Linked DNA regions of Homo sapiens: region 1 is linked to region 2. Evidence: promoter capture Hi-C in human tissues and cell types (Jung and others, 2019). All regions are on one chromosome and are shown on one strand. The core of a region is centred on a gene start or on the middle of the fragment in contact, and the rest is flanking DNA. Distances in the headings are between cores, read along the strand shown. Region 1 holds the start of CD70 (CD70 molecule). Region 2 holds the start of TNFSF14 (TNF superfamily member 14).

The links. Contacts are between HindIII fragments. The study calls those that stand out against the background at their distance.
Region 1: a contact is called between the fragment with the promoter of CD70 here and the fragment with the promoter of TNFSF14 in region 2, in 3 of the 25 tissues and cell types used here (lymphoblastoid cells, pancreas and stomach).

The regions. Positions count from the first base shown.
Region 1 is chr19:6,589,842-6,592,541 of GRCh38, reverse strand. CD70 (CD70 molecule) reads left to right here and starts at 1,392. Exons shown (of 3, transcript NM_001252.5): 1 at 1,392-1,701; 2 at 2,406-2,439. The coding sequence starts at 1,540. RefSeq lists enhancers at 1-152, 1,223-1,622, 2,123-2,492. The HindIII fragment of the contact is 16,779 bases long and covers 1-2,002 here.
Region 2 is chr19:6,668,405-6,671,447 of GRCh38, reverse strand. TNFSF14 (TNF superfamily member 14) reads left to right here and starts at 1,288. Exons shown (of 4, transcript NM_001376887.1): 1 at 1,288-1,597. The coding sequence starts at 1,379. RefSeq lists a silencer at 159-258 and enhancers at 829-1,058, 1,439-1,528, 2,429-2,618, 2,679-2,768. The HindIII fragment of the contact is 26,746 bases long and covers 1-3,043 here.

The DNA of each region.
Region 1 (2,700 bases), core at 143-2,642, 79 kb after region 2:
TAACCCACTACAGCCATCGAGAACAGCAGCAGGAGGCTGGATGCGGTGGCTCACACCTGTCATCCCGGCACTTTGGGGGACCTACGCAGCAGGATCGCTTGAGCCCAGATGTTTGAGACCAGCCTGGTAACATAGTAACACCCTATCCTCTACCCCCCCCAAAAAAAAAATTAGCCGGGCATGGTAGCGTGTGCTGGTAGACCCAACTATGCAAAAGGCTGAGATGGGAGGGTCACTGAAGCCCAGGAGTTTGAGGCTGCTGTGAGCTGTGTGGCGCCACTGCATCCAGCCTGGGCAACAGAGCAACACTCTGTCTCTAAAAATATTAATTTAGGCCGGGCGCGGCGGCTCACGCCTGTAATCCCAGCACTTTGGGAGGCCAAGGCGGGCAGATCACGAGGTCAGGAGATGGAGACCATCCTCGCTAACATGGTGAAAACCCATCTCTACTAAAAATACAAAAAGTTAGCCGGGCGTGGTGGCGGGCGCCTGTAGTCCCAGCTACTTGAGAGGCTGAGGCAGGAGAATGGCGTGAACCCGGGAGGCGGAGCTTGCAGTGAGCCGAGATGGCGCCACTGCACTCCAGCCTGGGCGACAGAGCGAGACTCTGTCTCAAAAAAAAAAAAAATAAATAATAAAATAAAATAAAAATAAAAAATAAAAATATTAACTTAATTTAACTTTAAACAAAAAAGCAGGTGGTCTCCAAGAATGCAGGAGATAACTGACCGGGTGCAGTGTCTCATGCCTTTAATCCCAGCACTTTGGAAGGCCAAGGCGGGTGGATCACCCAAGGTCAGGAGTTCAAGTCCAGCCTGGCCAACATGGTGAAACCCCATCTCTACTAAAAATACAAAAAATTAGCCAGGCATGGTGGCGCGCGCATGTTACTCCCAGCTACTCGCGAGGCTCAGACAGGAGAATCGCTTGAACCCAGGAGATCGAGGTTGCGGCGAGCTGAGATGGCGCCACTGCACTCCAGCCTGGGTGACAGAGGGAGACCTCCGTCTCAAAAACAAAACAAATCAAAAAAATGCAGGAGAGGGGTACACGAATATTTGGGGAGCACCCCCAATTCTTGGATGTCTGCTGTATCCCCAGTGCACAGCACAATCTAATCCCTAATAAATGTGCAGTGGAGGTTTGTTGAATAAATGAATGGGCCCCAGAAGAATGAGGTGGAGAGGGGAATAGGAAGATTGAATGTCTCCTGCCTGAAGGTCGGGCGGGGAGGGGTTGGGGGCAGGCAACTCTGAGGCTCACCCGGGGCCACTGCCTGCATCCTGGCAACTGCCTCCACCCACTTTAGGATCTTCAGACTGGCAGCGGTTGGAGGGAATTTCCCCTCGCCAATTGCTCAAGTCCCTCCCCTCGACCGGCCGGACATCCCCAGAGAGGGGCAGGCTGGTCCCCTGACAGGTTGAAGCAAGTAGACGCCCAGGAGCCCCGGGAGGGGGCTGCAGTTTCCTTCCTTCCTTCTCGGCAGCGCTCCGCGCCCCCATCGCCCCTCCTGCGCTAGCGGAGGTGATCGCCGCGGCGATGCCGGAGGAGGGTTCGGGCTGCTCGGTGCGGCGCAGGCCCTATGGGTGCGTCCTGCGGGCTGCTTTGGTCCCATTGGTCGCGGGCTTGGTGATCTGCCTCGTGGTGTGCATCCAGCGCTTCGCACAGGCTCAGCAGCAGCTGCCGCTCGAGTCACTTGGGGTGAGTTGAGATGGAAAAGTTGGGAAGAAAACATAGAGAGGCGCGTGACCGAAAAGACAGAATGAGATGGGTACAAAGAGGCCAGAGAGGAAGATCTGGTAGGGCAGAGACAGAGACCAGAACAGGGAGGCGAGGCGGGGACCAGGCTGCCCGGTGTAGGGGCTACGAGACAGGCAGCCCTGCCAGGAGGTACAGGGAGATCCCGGGATGGGAAAGGTAGGCACACATGGAAATGGAAGATGACTCGGCTCTGGTGTTCCCCCGGCAGGCTGACTCAGAGGCTGCTGGGGGCTTCACAAGGCTGGGCGTGGGGGCTTCCTGGGGCCTCCTAGGACGGGATGGCCCCAGCCACTCGCTCCGGGTGGGGGAGGGGTCCCTTTGGGGACCGCGCCGGGCGCCTTTGCAGCGTAGAGAGTCCGCTGCGCGCGGTGCTCTCGCGCCCAGTGACATCCAGGAAAACGATTCGGGAAACGAAGAAGTTCTTTTGAAGGTCTCGACTTCACGTTCCCCGCTGGTTCAGACCTGCTTCCTCTTTAAGAAGTCTTAAGAGTAAAAAAAAATAAAATGAAATAAAATCACCAGTGCGCGCCGTGGGATGAGAGGTGGAAAGGAGGATGGACAGAGAAAAGAGAGCTCCTGGCACAGGGGACACATAGAACCTCTCTGCTTACGTCCGTGCCCTGTTTTCTGGTCTTTTCTTCCAGTGGGACGTAGCTGAGCTGCAGCTGAATCACACAGGTAACACGGGGGACGTGGAGGGACGGGGAGAAGAAGAGGCACAGAGAGAGAAGGAAGGAGAGGTAGAAAGACAAGTGGGGAGAGACAGAGAGAAAGAGACACAGACAGAGACGGAGGGAGAGAGGGAGGGAGAGATAGGGAGGGAAACGGAGAGGGGGAGACAGAGAGAAGACAGAGAGGGAGGGAGAGGCCCAGAGAAAGGGAGGGAGAGACAGAAAAAAGAACAGAGAGAGGGACAGAGGGGACAGACGGGACAGGAGA
Region 2 (3,043 bases), core at 39-2,538:
GAATGGCGTGAACCTGGGAGGCGGAGCTTGCAGTGAGCCGAGATCGCACCACTGCACTCCAGCCTGGGCGACAGAGCGAGACTCCGTCTCGAAAAAAAAAAAAATCCACGCTTGAATGCATGCACACTCATACATGGACCTCCCCACACACATGAACACACCCGTGCAAGTGCGCACACACACATACACGCACCAATGCACAGGCACACACACATGCACACACCTGCACACAGCACATATATGCACACCCACTTGCACATGTGATGCATGTTCACACATACACACACGTGCACATGCATGCATGTACATGGACCACATGCACATGCACACAGATGACCATACACATATGCATGCACCTGCCCACATATGCACGCACATTTACATGCCAGCACATGTATGATACACAGGCATGCGCCTGCACATGTGTACATGATACACACTTGCATGCACACAACTGAATACACACATTCACATGCACACACTGCACACATATATGCATGCAGACAAGCACACACACAGAGCACACATCCACTCCTTTATTCCACTCTTGTGTTTTTCACTGCACTTGTCACATCAAAACACAACAGAAGGCCGGGCATGGTGCGGCTCACGTTTGTAATCCCAGCACTTTGGGAGGCTGAGGTGGGTGGATCGCTTGAGGTCAGGAGTTCGAGACCAGCCTGACCGACATGGTGAAAACCCATCTCTACTAAAAATACAAAAAGCAGCCAGGCGTGGTGGCACGCGCCTGTAATCCCCGCTACTTGGGAGGCTGAGGCAGGAGAATTGCTTGAACCCAGGAGGTGGAGGTTGTAGTAAGCTGAGATCGCGCCACTGCACTCCAGCCTGGGCAACAGAGCGAGACTCCATCTCAAAAACAAAACAAATAAACGAACAAAAAAACCCACAACGTATTATTTTCTTGTTTACGAGGTTTCTTGTCTCTCTGGCTCCACCAGAAGAGGAGCAGGGACCCTTCTTGCTGTTGTTCATTGCTGCATCCCCCACACCGAGAGCAGAGCCTGGCATGGGCAGAAAGTCCTCAGTCGATATTTGGTGGCCCCAAGCGAATGAAGCATCCAAGAAGGGAAAGCTGGGGGCTCCCCACTGCACTTGCCACCTGAGTCACATTTTCAGAAGCCTCTGGAAAGTGTGAGAGTCTGTATGAGTGAGAGTGAGACAGGGCCAAGACCGGGGGCGGCGGGTACCGGAAGAAGAGGAGGGTGAGTGGGGGAAGGGGTGGGGCTGAACCCCAGCTCTAAAGGCGGCCCACGGGTGCCTGTCCGCAGCGTGCACAGCCCAGGAGTGTTGAGCAATTTCGGTTTCCTCTGAGGTTGAAGGACCCAGGCGTGTCAGCCCTGCTCCAGACACCTTGGGCATGGAGGAGAGTGTCGTACGGCCCTCAGTGTTTGTGGTGGATGGACAGACCGACATCCCATTCACGAGGCTGGGACGAAGCCACCGGAGACAGTCGTGCAGTGTGGCCCGGGTGGGTCTGGGTCTCTTGCTGTTGCTGATGGGGGCCGGGCTGGCCGTCCAAGGCTGGTTCCTCCTGCAGCTGCACTGGCGTCTAGGAGAGATGGTCACCCGCCTGCCTGTGAGTGGGACCGGGGGGCTGAGAGCAGGTGGAGGTGAGGGGGGCTCCCCTGTGTCATTGTGGGTCACTGTGTGTCTGTGTGTGTGTGTGTGTGTGTGTGTGTGTGTGTGTGTAGGACAGGGCACAGGCTGAGAGCAGCTGGCTTGACTGGTTGCTGCTCCCAGCCTTGGGCAAGTGAATTCACCTCTCTGAACCTCAGTGTCTTCATCTACAAAATAAGGGCAGTCTCTTCATAGGGGACGAAGTATGCTATGGCATGTGTAGTACCAGACGATGCCAGCTCCACCCGTCGGAACTGACACCCCAACACTGCCATGCACACCCCTGTGCACACACGCATGCATTTTCTCTGTACTTTTTTATTTTTGAGACGGAGTTTCACTCTCGTTGCCCAGGCTGGAGTGCAATGGCATGATCTCTGCTCACCGCAACCTCTGCCTCCCGGGTTCAAGTGATTCTCCTGCCTCAGCCTCCCGAGTAGCTGGGATTACAGGCATGCGCCACCACGCCTGGCCAATTTTGTATTTTTAGTAGAGATGGGGCTTCTCTATGTTTGTCAGGCTGGTCTCAAACTCCCGACCTCAGGAGATCCACCCGCCTCAGCCTCCCAAAGTGCTGGGATTACAGGTGTGAGCCACTGCGCCTGGCCTTCTCTGGTACTCTTATTACTGTTACTGCGATTGTCATTAATTCTCTGACCATTTCCATCTGTGGAAATTTCTCGGTCTGCTTCCAGCTGGCTGTGGATGTGTCCGCCTGTCTGTGTGCCTCACCTGGGGGTCTATGTGTGCCCAACACCATACCCCTGTGGGCTTGGCCCCTTTTGTGTCCTGGGTCTGGATCCGGTGGCCACACATTCGTGTCCATATACCCATGTGGACGTATGTGCGTGTACCCACATGTCCACACACCCGCCTAGCTGCAGCCGGTGTATTCACGTTGTCTGTCTTTGTCTCTGGGTCTCTGTGTCTGTAGACGCACATGGATCCATAAACCACAAACCACATGTCCACGCATCTGAGCCCACATGTGTCTTCTCAGCGTCATGATGATGTTGAGGTCTGTGCCCTGTGGCAGGTGCTATATCCCAAGGGTGGTGTCCATGTGTCCAGCCATCTCGCTGTCTGCATTTTTTTTTTTTTGAGACAAGGTTTCTCTCCCATAGCCCAGGCTGTAGTGTAGTGGTGCAGTCTTGGCTCACTACAACCCCACCTCCCAGGTTCAAGTGATTCCCTTGTCTCAGCCTCCTGAGCAGTAGCTGGGATCACAGGCATCCGCCACCGTGCCTGGCTAATTTGTGTATTTTTAGTACAGACGGGGTTTCACCATGTTGGCCAGACTTGTCTCGAACTCCTGACCTCAAGTGATCCACCTGCCTCAGCCTCCCAAAGTGCTGGGATTACAGGTGTGAGCCACCACGCCTGGCCTTGTCCCTGTATTTTTAAA